Regions from separate parts of the Homo sapiens genome. Here regions 1, 3 and 4 are each linked to region 2. Evidence: promoter capture Hi-C in 16 types of primary human blood cells and fetal thymus (Javierre and others, 2016). All regions are on one chromosome and are shown on one strand. The core of a region is centred on a gene start or on the middle of the fragment in contact, and the rest is flanking DNA. Distances in the headings are between cores, read along the strand shown. Region 1 has its middle 9.4 kb from the start of LINC02724. Region 2 holds the start of NRXN2-AS1 (NRXN2 antisense RNA 1). Region 3 has its middle 14 kb from the start of LINC02724. Region 4 holds the start of LOC124902690 (a long non-coding RNA gene).

Evidence for each region. The method cuts DNA at HindIII sites, captures the fragments that hold promoters and counts their contacts. A CHiCAGO score of 5 or more calls a contact.
Region 1: a fragment that was not itself captured here is called in contact with the fragment with the promoter of NRXN2-AS1 in region 2 in 1 of 17 cell types (M1 macrophages); the score reaches 5.2 in M1 macrophages.
Region 3: a fragment that was not itself captured here is called in contact with the fragment with the promoter of NRXN2-AS1 in region 2 in 2 of 17 cell types (megakaryocytes and M2 macrophages); the score reaches 5.7 in megakaryocytes.
Region 4: a fragment that was not itself captured here is called in contact with the fragment with the promoter of NRXN2-AS1 in region 2 in 5 of 17 cell types (M1 macrophages, megakaryocytes, M0 macrophages and 2 more); the score reaches 8.6 in M1 macrophages.

The regions. Positions count from the first base shown.
Region 1 is chr11:64,438,175-64,441,207 of GRCh38, forward strand. No RefSeq gene overlaps it. Among named protein-coding and RNA genes, the nearest start is that of LINC02724, 9.4 kb to the right of the region's middle. RefSeq lists enhancers at 1,303-1,834, 2,367-2,897. The HindIII fragment of the contact is 1,208 bases long and covers 755-1,962 here.
Region 2 is chr11:64,642,074-64,645,275 of GRCh38, forward strand. NRXN2-AS1 (NRXN2 antisense RNA 1) reads left to right here and starts at 1,776. Exons shown (of 3, transcript XR_001748259.3): 1 at 1,776-2,509. The region is part of intron 17 of NRXN2 (neurexin 2); the gene reads right to left. The HindIII fragment of the contact is 13,173 bases long and covers 1-3,202 here.
Region 3 is chr11:64,460,990-64,464,142 of GRCh38, forward strand. No RefSeq gene overlaps it. Among named protein-coding and RNA genes, the nearest start is that of LINC02724, 14 kb to the left of the region's middle. The HindIII fragment of the contact is 6,738 bases long and covers 1-3,153 here.
Region 4 is chr11:64,499,465-64,502,497 of GRCh38, forward strand. It overlaps LOC124902690 (a long non-coding RNA gene), which reads right to left and starts at 1,430. Exons shown (of 2, transcript XR_007062721.1): 1 at 557-1,430. The HindIII fragment of the contact is 292 bases long and covers 1,406-1,697 here.

The sequences.
Region 1 (3,033 bases), core at 109-2,608, 200 kb before region 2:
CACCACACCCGGCTAATTTTTGTATTTTTAGTAGAGATGGGGTTCACCATGTTGGCCAGGCTGGTCTAGAACTCCTGGCCTCAAGTGATCTGCCTGCCTGGGCCTCCCAAAGTGCTGGGATTACAGTCATGAGCCACCACACCCAGCCTCTTCTTTTTTTTTTTTTTTTTTTTTTTGAGAGGGAGTCTCACTGTGTCACCCAGGCTGGAGTGCAGTGGTGTGATCTAGGCTCACTGCAACCTCTGCCTCCTGGGTTCAAGCAATTCTCTTGCCTCAGTCTCCCAAGTAGCTGGGACTATAGGCACGTGCCACCATGCCCAGCTAATTTTTGTATTTTTAGTAGAGACGGGGTTTCACCATGTTGGCCAGGCTGGTCTGGAACTCCTGGCCTCAAGTGATCCACCCTTTCGGCCTCCCAAAGTGCTGGGATTACAGGCGTGAGCCACCATGCCCCCGGCCACCTTTGTTGTTTTCTGAGGATATTTTAACAACTTCTGGAACACAAATCTGGCTCTGCACAGTAGCTGGATTGGGCAATATGAGTCCACTGATGTCCCCGCTGCCCCAGGGACTCTGGTATCTGGGGCAGAGGTGGGACTGGATGGGTCTGAGCAGGATTTTGGCCAATTCCCCTGGGACTTTCCCAGAAAAGAACTGATGGACCCAGGTAGCCAGGGGCGACCATTCCACAGCTAGAGAAACCAAAGCGCTTTGAATTTTTTTTTCCTTGGGACATCTCCCAACCCTATTCATAAGCTTTGGTCTCTTTTGTACAGAAGAATGTGGAGTGAAGCAGAATACAGTGACCTAGGGGAAAAAAGAGGAAACAGTACAATTTTAGCCCAATTTTTCTGGAGAGAATGGAGACCATGCTTTTGGTATTGTCTGGGAGGGCGCACACCATCAGCGGCCTTGGACCAGGCTGGGAAACGTGTCCAATCAGCGGAGCCCTCAGGGGCTTGTACTAGTCTTTGAAGAAAGCCCTTTGGAGCCAGCTTCTCGCCCGGTTGTGCTGGGGAAGCAGAATTCTCAAAGGTCACGTCGCCCTCTCGCTGCCCAGCGCTGGGGGGAGGCTCCTCTTCTGCTCCCTCGGCAGCATCTGGAAACGGCCTCTTCATGGCCTCTGAGACGTTTTCTCTCTCTCCTGGGGGCTGGGGCTCACTTCCTCCCCTTGATGTCTCCCCGTAGGTTCTGTCCTTGGCTCTTTTGCCTCCAGGGGCTTCCTCGGCAATTTCACCTGTTCCATGGTTTCAGTGATCCTGTCTCTCTGGAATGTGGGTGGACAGCCTTGGGAAGCTGTGAATTCTCCAGCACCAAAACCGTCCTCCCTGAAAGGGACAGACAGCCACTCCCCGCAGAGCTGGGGAGACTCGGGGACCCTGAAGAGCAGGGGTCTCAAACTGCAGTGCTGGAAAGGGCCAGGCAGGTGTGCAGAGGAGAGGCCTGGGCCAGGAGGGAGGGGCAGGGTGCAGTCAGCTGGACGGAGAGTGCCTGGGTACTGGGCGAGGACGGCTGAGCTCCAGCTGCCGTGTAGGGATAAGGAGCCTCAGTGGGGCCAGTGCAGTGGCACTTAACCACAGGGATGCTGATGCAAATAAGCACGAGCCTCTTACACAGCACCTGACATGCAACAGGAGGCCTCCTGTTTTAAATTTTAAAAAAATTTTTCGAGATGGGGTCTTGCTCTGTTGCCCAGGCTGGAGTGCAATGGTGCAATCTCGGCTCACTGTAGCCTCGAGCTCCTGGGCTCAAGCGATCCTCCCATCTCAGCCTCCTGAGTAGCTGGGACTATAGGCATGCACCACCATGCCTGGCTAATTTTTAGTATTTTTTTTTTTGTAAAGTTGGGGTCTCACTATGTTGCCCAGGCTGGTCTTGAACTCCTGGGCTCAAGTGATCTGCCTGCCTTGGCTTCCCAAAGTGTTGGGATTACAGGCGTGAGCCACTGTGTGTGGCTCAGGAAGCTTCTTGATTCTTCCACATTGATCTCCCCCTCCTCTGAATGGTTGTCATGGTGTTGTGCCCCTCATGTGGTCCTGATCACACATTTCTCAGGTGATGGGATGTATCAGTTAGCTACTGGACAATAGTGTCATGTAACAAATGGTCCCCAAACTCAGTGGCTTAGAACAATGGTGATTTGTTCTCATGATTTTGTGGATTGGTTGGAGCTTGGCTGGTGCGGGCTTCTGGCTGGGGCAGCTCAGGCAGCTCCACTTTTCCCTGCTGGTCTGTGGCTCAGTGGGGCAGTGCAGCTCCACGAGTCTCTCATCCTCCTTGCATGAGTGGCTCAGCTGGGACATGCTTCTTTCAGAGCAGAACATACAAGGCTTCTTGGCACCTGGCAGGTGGTCACTTTTGCTTATGTGCCATTGGCCAAAGCAAATCCCATGGACAACCTCAAAGTCAAGGAGCAGGGAAGTACCCATTGCCCATGACAAGGCCACAGCAAGGGTGTGGACGCCGTAGGAGGTGGTGAGTTAGGACTTCAGCCCCGCCCCGCCGAGCCCACAGGGACGGAAACAGTTTTAGGTGAGTGCCTTTTTGCAGTGGCTGACTCATGGGGACAGGACCCTTCCTGAATGGCCTGGGACCCTGTTGAGAGCCATCTCTGGGGGAGAGGTTCCAGCAGCCCAAGTGACATATTAGCAAGAATTCGAGCCAGCATTTCTGTGCATAGGGGTAGGGAGTGGGGAGAAGGGCCTAGCAGGGCAGTGTGGTGCATGCAGTAGGTGCTTACTCAGTGTTCGATGGAGGAATGTAGACTGTCTTCTATCCAGGAGTGAGGGAAGCAGATTTTCTCTGGGTTGAGGCAGGGAGGAGGCTGGGGGTGGAGGCCTGGGGGGCTTTGATGTCCCTTTCTTGCCCCCAGGAAGCACTGCTGACTCCCACAGAGAGCAGAAAAAGAGCAGGTTAACAAAAGGAGTTTATATTCGGTCTTGAAATGTATTCCTTCGGGGGTTTCTTTTTTTCCCCAGCAAGTCAGTTCCTTTTCAGTATTTCCTTTCATTTTGTTTTAGATTTATCTTTCTA
Region 2 (3,202 bases), core at 526-3,025:
GGGGGAGAGATGACAGACCAGCGATGGAAGGGTGAGGGTGAGGCAGAGGTGGAGGCAAGACAGATGGAGAGATGATAAGGGGCCGAGATGGAGAAGGTGATGCGCAAGAGAAATGGAAGGCAGAGCTGCACGGAGAGGATGAAAGGACAGACAGGGCGGGGAGGGTAAGGAAGTAGAAGGAGATAATGAACCAGACCTAGGGGTAAGCAGGTTTAGGTGAGGCCAGGAAGCAAAGTGCTGAAGACAGAGATGAGGGTGATGGGGGAGAGGAGAGATGGAGGCAAGGGTGGGGCTGAGATGATGGGAGCTGGAGATTGGAGGTGAAGGGGCTCCGGGACGCAAAGCAGAGGGGCCAGGCTCGGCGTGCACAGCTGGGGTGGGGCCCGCGGGGGCCCAGCTGCGCACACGGGAAGCGCCCCCCGCCCCCGGGCCAACCGGGTGGCCGGCATCTACAGTGCCACTTACCGTGGCCGCCGCGGGTGAGGAAGGGCATGCGGTTGATGGCGATGGGCACGGTGCCGTGCTTGCTGTGGAAGTGGTGGACGTGGTGGGTGGTGCTGAGGCTGGAGGAGACCCGGGCCCCCTCGGCCGCCCCCAGCAGCAACAGCAGCAACAGCGGCAACAGCGGCAGCAGAGGTGGCGGCGGCGGCGGTGGAGGCGGCGGCAGGGGCCCAGCCAGGGCCGGGGGGCGGCGCGGGCACCCCCCCGGCCCGCTCCCCCCGGGGGGCATTTCGGCCCGGGGGCGACCGCCTCACAGCCCCATGGCCGGGGGCGGGGACGCGGGGCTGCGCAGCCCCGCGAAGCCCCCCTCCGGCTCCGAGCTCCGGGAGCGGGGTAGGGATGAAGCGGAGGTAAACCAGGGCCCAAGCCTCGGTCCGGAGCCAACAAAATCAACTGGATCCCGCCGGGAAATCGGGGGTCCGCGGAGCGGCAACGCCAAGGTCCAGGATGCCTGGGTCCATCGCGAGGAGCTAGGGGTCTCTCTGCATCCCGGCGGGGTCGGAGCGGCGCAGAGGGCCGTCAGAAACCCGGGGGAGCGCCCGGGGGAGGGGGCATGGTGCCGAGTGGAGAGGGAGGGGAGCGCGGGGGCCAAGCAGGGAGGGGAGAGCGAGGGAAATCCTGCGGAAAAACCGAGCTGGGGAGCGGGGCGGTGCGGGCTGGAGGAGAGAAGAGGGACGGAGACCTGGTTCCCCCGAAGGCGGGAGACCGACGGCGACTGGGGCCGGCCGCGCCGCTGCTGCCGCTGCCGCCCGACGGAGGCCGGGGGAAAGGAGGGAGCGGCCGGGGGAGGGGGGGGCGGGAGAAGGGGGAAGGGAAGCAAATCCGGGTGAGGGGGGAATGAAGGGATAGGAGAGGAGGGGATAGGAGAGGAGGGGAGCGGGGCTGAGCCGAGGAAAGGCGCGAGCCTGCGAGATTCCGGCGGAGAGATGGAGGCAGCGAAGTGTTGCTGCAGAGGCTGAGAGGGCTGGAAGGGAGAGGGAGGGAGGGAGAGAGGGAGAGAGGGAGAGAGGGAGGGAGGGAGGGAAGGAGGAGAGCGGAGAGGGGAGGGGAAGCGCGGGAGGAGGAGGGGGCAGGGCGGAGGGACCAGAGCGGCTCCCGATCTGCGGGCGGCGCTGGGCAGCTCAGCCGCGCGGCACCTGGCTAGCCCGCTCGGCGCTCTCCTCTCCTCTGCGCGCGCCCGCCCCTCCCCCGCGCCTGGACGCGCGCGCTCCTCCTGCACCCCCCTCCTGGAGAAGGGACCCTGCTGAATAATGGAACGGGATTGAGGCTAGCAAGAGAGGCCACTTTCTTCCTCCCCGCCCACCCCACCCGGATGAACCCCAATAATGCTCTCTGGCACAGCCTGCTGAGATGCCGCGGCGGCCACCTCTGCACCACCCCTCGCAACGCACGTGCACACTGAGATGTGTATCGGCTTGGGTATGGAAACATCCACGTGCCCATATGGGCACAGTGTGCGGGTAGGCACACAGGCTCAGACACATACATGCATGCATGTGCTCACAGACACTGGCACACCAACTTACTCTCAGGGGAGCATATACACATGCTCACAGGGCATACATCCGTGCACACACACGTTTGATCACAGGACATGAATGGCCAACATACACACAGACACCCCTGCTCCCCAAGCTCACCCTCCAAAATAGGGTCCACAGCATACAGTGCACCCAGAGCCTTCGAGGTACTCAGGAATAAGACATGCCACACACGTACAACTCCCCACCACCTCCCCAAAAAGCTGCTCCCCCAGCCCCCTGCACAAGCCTCTCCTGGACTCCTCCAATCCTTCCTCTCCACTACCACTGCCCCTCCCCCAGCCCCAACCTCTCCCTCCATGGGGGGTCTAGAGGACACCTGCCCACTGAGTGTCCCATTTAGGACAAAACCCTTCCTGGGCCACGTATGTCAAGCTGAGGAAACCACTTCTCCTTCAGGATGCCCTCCAATTGGGTTCTGTCCCCCAAACTTTTGGACGCTCTGGAAAGCACCTGTGGCCCCAGAGGTAAGCACAGAGAGACTCCTTTCCCGTCACCGGGTCGTATGCACCAACCTGCTCGGACAGGGGAGAGGGTGGGAAGGCAGAGGGTAGAGGAGGAGGGAAAGGAGGAGAGAGGTGGAGAGGGCACCTGGGGGAGCTGAAGAAACAGTGCAGCGGAGTGAGGAGGAGGGCTGGGTAAGGAAAGGACAGGAGGCAGGGGCGGGTGAAGTGAGAAAGGGGAGGGCTGGGAGAGAGGAGGCTGGGAGGGGCTGGAGAGAGCTGGCTCCTATTTATTGATTCTAAACTCCATTTGGGAGCAAAAACTGTCACCACGAGCCCCATGTGCCACCCCCAGCTCCAGGATGCAGTCAGGACCCAGGACATCTCCCCAATGCTGCTGCCAGTCCTCCATCCCTACTACATGCCAGAGCTGGATTTGGCCCCCAGGTCTTTAGAAGTGAAGAAAGCGGTCCTCAGAGGCACCCAGAGGAGGCTTCCGGTGGTGCAGGGCCCCGAGCCATGCAGTGCTGGAGGAGAGACTGCATGCCAGGAGCAGGGCTGGGGCCCCCAGAGGCCACGTCCTCCTGCCCTCTCTATCACGTTCTTGGGCCCCTGGATCTGGAATATAGACTGACACAGCTCTGAGCAGGCAGAAAATTTATGGTTCCACAGGGAGGGAGGGAGGAGCCGGTGGCGAGAGGAAAGGAAGGGAAACCG
Region 3 (3,153 bases), core at 132-2,631, 180 kb before region 2:
TTGGCCCAGTGTTATCTATGGTGGGTTTCCCCAGGGGTTGATCCTGAGACAAGGATTTGGGTGGAAGAGGGGAAGGCAAGTCCTAGGAAGGGTGCACTGATGAGCAGGTGCCACTGGGAATGGTGGGGAGGTGGTGTAAGACATACCCCACAACTGTCCCTCTGGAGGGGCCAGGAAGCTGTGGTATTATCCTTCAGCCTCTGCCCATTACCACCAGCACTACCAGACCCTACTCCTGGGACGATGACTCCCTGGTTCTTCCAGCTACTGTTCTTGCAAGGTCAGTGGAAGCCCTGGGGTCTCAGAGGGCCATGGGTGTTCACAGGGGACACCTTTATATGCACTGGGTCAGGGGATTGAAGGGAGAGTGGCCTAGGCACCCCGGTGTCTGCTATAGTGTGAGGCTGGAACCTACATTAATTTCGTTCCAAATGGACAACCAATGGACCAAACAGGATTTTTTTTATCCATCCACTTTCTTACTGATTTTATTAAATCAGATTTCTGGGGTTCAGTATTCTGGGTGTATCTGTCTATCCTGTGTTGCTATCACATTGTTTAAATGATCACAGCTTTATAAGTCTTGATACCTGGTAGGGGAAATCCCTCCTCATACCTTGACTTGTTGCTCTTGTTTGAAATTGTTTTGGCTATTCTTGGCCCTTTATTTTGCATTTGCATTTTAGGATTATATTATCGAGTTCCCTGAAAAGCCCCATTCAGAATTTGATTGGCCTTGTGTTAACTTTATAGATTAATCTAGGAAGCATCGTTTTGTTTATGGTGTTGAGTCTTTCTATCCATGAACACGCTATAGATCTTTATTTATTCATGACTTCTGTGTTCTGCAGCAATATTTTATGCTTTCCTCCATAAAGATCCTACACATCACTCCCTCTCTTGAAATCTCAGTTCCCATTGTTTTTGCTGCTATTGTAAGTGATGCCTTCTTATAACATGTTTTCTAGTCAATTATTGCTGGGCATAGAAGTATTCTTGATCTTTTATAATGTACATTAATCTTATATCCAGCAACCCTGCCAAACCTTTATCACTTTTCAGAGTTTGTGGAAGCTCTTGGATTTTCTATGTCAACAATCATATTATTATCAGCAAAGAATCACAATATGTTGCTTTTTTCTTTCCTATTGATGCAGGACAGGTGAGCCCCAAACTGGGGCTTAGCCCATAAGGGTTCTTGGCTTTGCCCAGGAAAGAATTCAAAGGTGAGCCAGTGGTAGGTTGGAAGAAAACAGCTTTATTGAAACAGCAGTGTTAGAGCTCTGGTGGAGTTTCAGTTCTGTGACTGCTCCTGCTAAGCAGGGCTACCCCATAGGCAGTGTGCTAAGAGTAGCAGCTCAGGGCAGGGCAGGGCAGGGCAGGGCAGGACTGGAGTCATATTCATGCCTGCTTTTTTTTTTTTTTTGAGACCGAGTCTCACTCTGTTGCCCAGGCTGAAGTGCAGCGGTGCCATCTCAGCTCACTGCAACCTCCACCTCCTTGGTTCAAGTGATTCTCCTACCTCAGCCTCCCAGATAGCTGGGACTACACACCTGGCTAATTTTTGTAGTTTCAGTAGAGACAGGGTTTCACCATGTTGGCCAGGCTGGTCTCGAACCCCTGACCTCAGGTGATCCACCCGCCTTGGCCTCCCAAAGTGCTGGGATTACAGGCATGAGCCACCATGCCAGGCCCTTACCTACTTTTAATTGCATGCAGATTAAGGGGCAGTTTATGCAGAAATTTCTAGGGAAAGGATAGTAACTTTTGGGTTGTCAGGTCATTGCCATGGAAAAGAGCGGTGATGCCCAGGTGTCACCATGGCAACAGTAAGCTGACACGGACACTGGTGGGAGTGTCTGCTGGAAAGCTGCTTCTGCCAGGTCTCTGTTTTAACCAGTCCTCAGTTTGGCCTGATGTCCGATCCCTGCCTCTGGAGTGGAGTTCTGCCTCCTACCTCACTATTATTACACTGTTCCTTTTTCTTGTCTTACTGAATTGGCTAGGACCTCCAGTACAATGTTGAATACAGGAGTGGTTGCTGGCACCCTTATTTTATTCCTGAATTTTCATGGTAATGCTTCTAATGTTTTAACATGAATAATCTTATCTGCTATGAGTTTCTGATAGATGTCTTTGATCAAACTAAGGGAAATCCTTTCTATTTTTAGTTTGTATCATGTATAGGAGTTGAATTTTATTTTATTTATTTATTTATTTTGAGACAGGGCCTCAGTCTGTCACCTAGGCTGGAATGCAGTGGCACAATCTTGGCTCACTGAAGCCTCCTCCTAGGCTCAAGGGATCCTCCCACCTCAGCCTCCTGAATAGCTGGGACTATAGGCGCACACACTACGCCCAGCTTATTTTTTGTATTTTTGGTAGAGATGGGGTTTCGCCATGTTGCCCAGGCTAGTCTCGAACTCCTGACCTCAAGTGATCCTCCCACCTTGGCCTTCCAAAGTGCTGTGATTACAGGCATAAGCCACTGCATCCAGCCTGAATTTTATTACATGGTTCTCTGCATCTATTGAGATGGTGATGTTTTCTCTTCTTAATCTGTTAATGTGGCAAATTCTATGTAACATATTTTTCTAAAATTGACCATTGCGTGCCTAGGATAATGCCAATTTGGTTATGATGTATATATGTTTAAAATGCACTGCTTAATTTGTTTTGCTTGTATTTATTTAGGATTTTTATATCTCTGTTTAAAAGGGGGATTGGCTTATAATTTTCTTTTTCATGCCATCTATGTCCAACTGACATATTAGTGATGCCATCTTCCTAAAATAAGTAGGGTCTGTCTTTTATATTATTTGAAAACTTTGCTTACAATTTCATTCAAGGTTTAATATTTATTAGCATAAAGTTGTTCATCATCTTCTCTAATGATTTTTAACATTCCTGTGGTATGACTAGTTAGGATCTCTTCCGAGGAACATTGTTTTTGTTCATGCCTTCATCCTTTGAGGTGATTGGACTTGCTAGAAGTTTGTTCATTTTGTTGTTCTTTTGGAGGCATTAGCTTTCGGCCCTGCAGACTGTTAGGGGTTTTAGAGACCCCGATAAATATTGTCTTTCTTTTTATGGGATTTGTATATCATTTGAGGAATAAGACAAAAAGGGAATCCGGGAGACCAAATGATCATC
Region 4 (3,033 bases), core at 302-2,801, 140 kb before region 2:
TGACTGCCTGCTGGCCTCACCACCCCTGTGGGCCACAGCCTTGGAAAGAACAGTCCTCATTGGCTTTTTCTTCAAACACGACCCTGGGGATGGCTTTAGTAGCTCCTGGAATGGGGAATCTTAGCCCCGTCTATGGTCAGGTGTCTCCCCAGCTCGCTGAAGAAGAATGTGAAGGGAGAAAGGCTGAGAAGGGCCCCATTAAAGGCGGAAGAATCGCTTCCTCACCTTTCCCCAGTGAGAGAAGATGCGCTTTATTTGTTCATAAAACACACCCATAGCAAAGGCCTGGCACGGTGCACAGTGTGGGGAGCAGAGGATGGGGTCCTGCCCTCCTAGAGTGTACAGCCTGGGTGTGTGGGGGAGAGAGATAATAAACAAGGAAATAAACGGTTACGAGTGTCCCAACAGTCACAGGAAAGAACAAGTGCTGTGTGTGGAAGAATAAACCAGAAGGACGCCACAAAGGAAGGACGGTTGGGGTGGGGGCGGCCACAAGAAGCTCCCACTCTGTCTTCAGAGCTTTGGGTGGGGGGGCGGGTGCCCAAGCTATACTCACCCCTGAGGCTGTTGGTCTCTGGCCAACTTTAACAATGATTCAGGTCTCACTGGACGCACAAGGTATACGTCCTTTCAGAAAGAATGCAGAGCAATGGAAGAGTGGGTGGATTCTTTAACAAAGAAATTGCAAAATTCCAGCAAAATACAACATTTTGGAAGGAAAATCCCTTAGAGGCTCCCCTTTGGTGGCATAGCATCATGGAAATGAACCAAAGAAGAAATGAAACATTTAAAGAACATCCTAAGTTTTAAATTAGACCCAAATGCTGCGACCTCATCAAATAAACACCCAATCCACCAAATTCTAGCCCCACCAGGAGGAGTTAAGGAAGGAGCACGCTCTCAAAATGGCACCCGGGGCCAGCCCTGTGATGGGCGGACTCGGGTCACGTGACCCCAACTGCGTCTTCAAGACTGATCTCTTGTGAGGCTCTTAAAGCGGCGCTCCCCAACATTTCTAGCACCAGGGACTGGTTTGGAGGAAGGCAAATTTTCCAGATGGTGGGGGATGGGGGTGGGGGTGGTTTCAGGATGATTCAAGGGCATTTCATTTATTGTGCACTTTATTTCTATTATTATTACGTTGTAATATATAAGGAAGTAATTATACCCCTCACCATAATGTAGAATCAGTAGGAGCCCTGACCTTGTTTTCCTGCAATGCGACGGCGGCGACAGATCATCAGGCATCAGGTTCTCATAAAGAGCGCACAGCCTAGATCCCTTGCATGCGGGGTTCACAGCAGAGTTCGTGCTCCTGTGAGAATCTAACGCCGGCACTAATCTGACCTGAGTGGCGCTCTGGTGGTCACGTGAGCAACGGGGAAGCGGCCGTAAGAACAGATGAAGCTTCACTAGCTCCCCAGCCGCTCGTCTCCTGCTGTGTGGCCTGGTACCAGTCTGTGGCCCAGGGGCTGGGGACCCTTGCCCTAAAGGCTCCCGGGGCCGGCTGGGCCTGCTTGTGGGTAAGGGAGAGAGGACAGAAGCCTGTGCTGCTCAGGAGCCCCCACCACATAATGCCCTGTGTCCCAGATCCTAAATTCCTGAAAAGGCTAAAGTGAAGGACGATATTAGAGGATATTGAAAGTTTTGTTCCACAACTCCAAAACTTCTTTTATTGCAAAAAGATTTCCGTACCAAGCTTTGACATATATATATATAAATTTTTTTTCTTTTTTGAAACAGGGTCTTACTCTGTCACCCAGGCTGGAGTACCGGGGCAAAATCTTGGTTCACTGCAGCCTCAAACTCCCAGGCTCAAGCCATCCTCCCACCTCAGCCTCACAAATAGCTGGGACCACAGACATGCTCCACTATGACTGGCTAATTTTTAAACTTTTTTGTAGAGACAGGGGTCTCCCTCTGTTGCCCAGGCTGGTCTTGAACTCCTGACCTCAAGCGATCCTCTCGCTTCAGCCTCTGAAAGTATTGGGATTATAGGAGTGAGCCACCTTGCCCAGCTTAAAAATGCCTATTAAAGAAAATTTGGAAAACATATAAAAAGGGAAAAAGTCAATTCTATCTTTGTTTCCGTTTTGCTATCTGTCCAGTGCACTGGGGTGTGGAATGCTAACCTCGTCTCCTCCTACTACCCATGACTCTGCCACCTCCCATCTGTCCTCCTGCTTTTCATCGACCACACCTCCCACCTTGCGACCTTTGCACTGGCTCTTTCCTCTGCTGGAATGCATATTCCCAGAATCTGTATGGCTGACTCCCTCACCACTGAGTCTTTACTCATACACGACCTTCTTGACGACACTGACCTTGACCGCCCCACTTGTAATTGCACTTCCGACCACTCCTGATCCCCCTCCCGGTTACTCTGCTTAGTCTTATTCCTATAGCATTTACCACCTTCCTGCAAGCTAGGTAATTTACTTCTGGATTATGGTTATTTTCTATTCCTGTCTCCCCGATTGGACTGTGTCTATGTCTGTGTCTATGTCTACGTCAGCTGCACGGGCATAGAGATTTTTACCATTTTCTTCACAGGCATATCCCAAGCACCTGGAACAGTGCCTGTCATATACCAGGTGCTCAGTACATTTTTACTTGATGAATTAAATTAATGAAGCCTGGCTGATATTTATTGAGTACTTACTCTGCGCCAGACATTGTTTCAAGTACTTTACATTTTTCCAACAACCCTTGGAGAAAGTTTTAATAAACCCATTTTACAAATGAGGAACCCTAGGCACAGAAAGGCTAAGCAACTCGCCTAAGATCACACAGCCAGTAAATGTCAGTGCCAGGATTTGAACCCAGGCAGTCTGACACCAGAGCTCATAGTCTCAATTGCAGTGAACACCACAGAGCCAGGCATGTTTTAGTGGTCACTACATTTTAGTTGAATAAATGAATAAATAACTAAAAACCAAATATATCAAATAACATTCTAATTTCTCTGCCTAGAGATCAATACTGGCCAACACATGATGGGACATTTTTCTTGACCCTCTCCAATGTGAATTA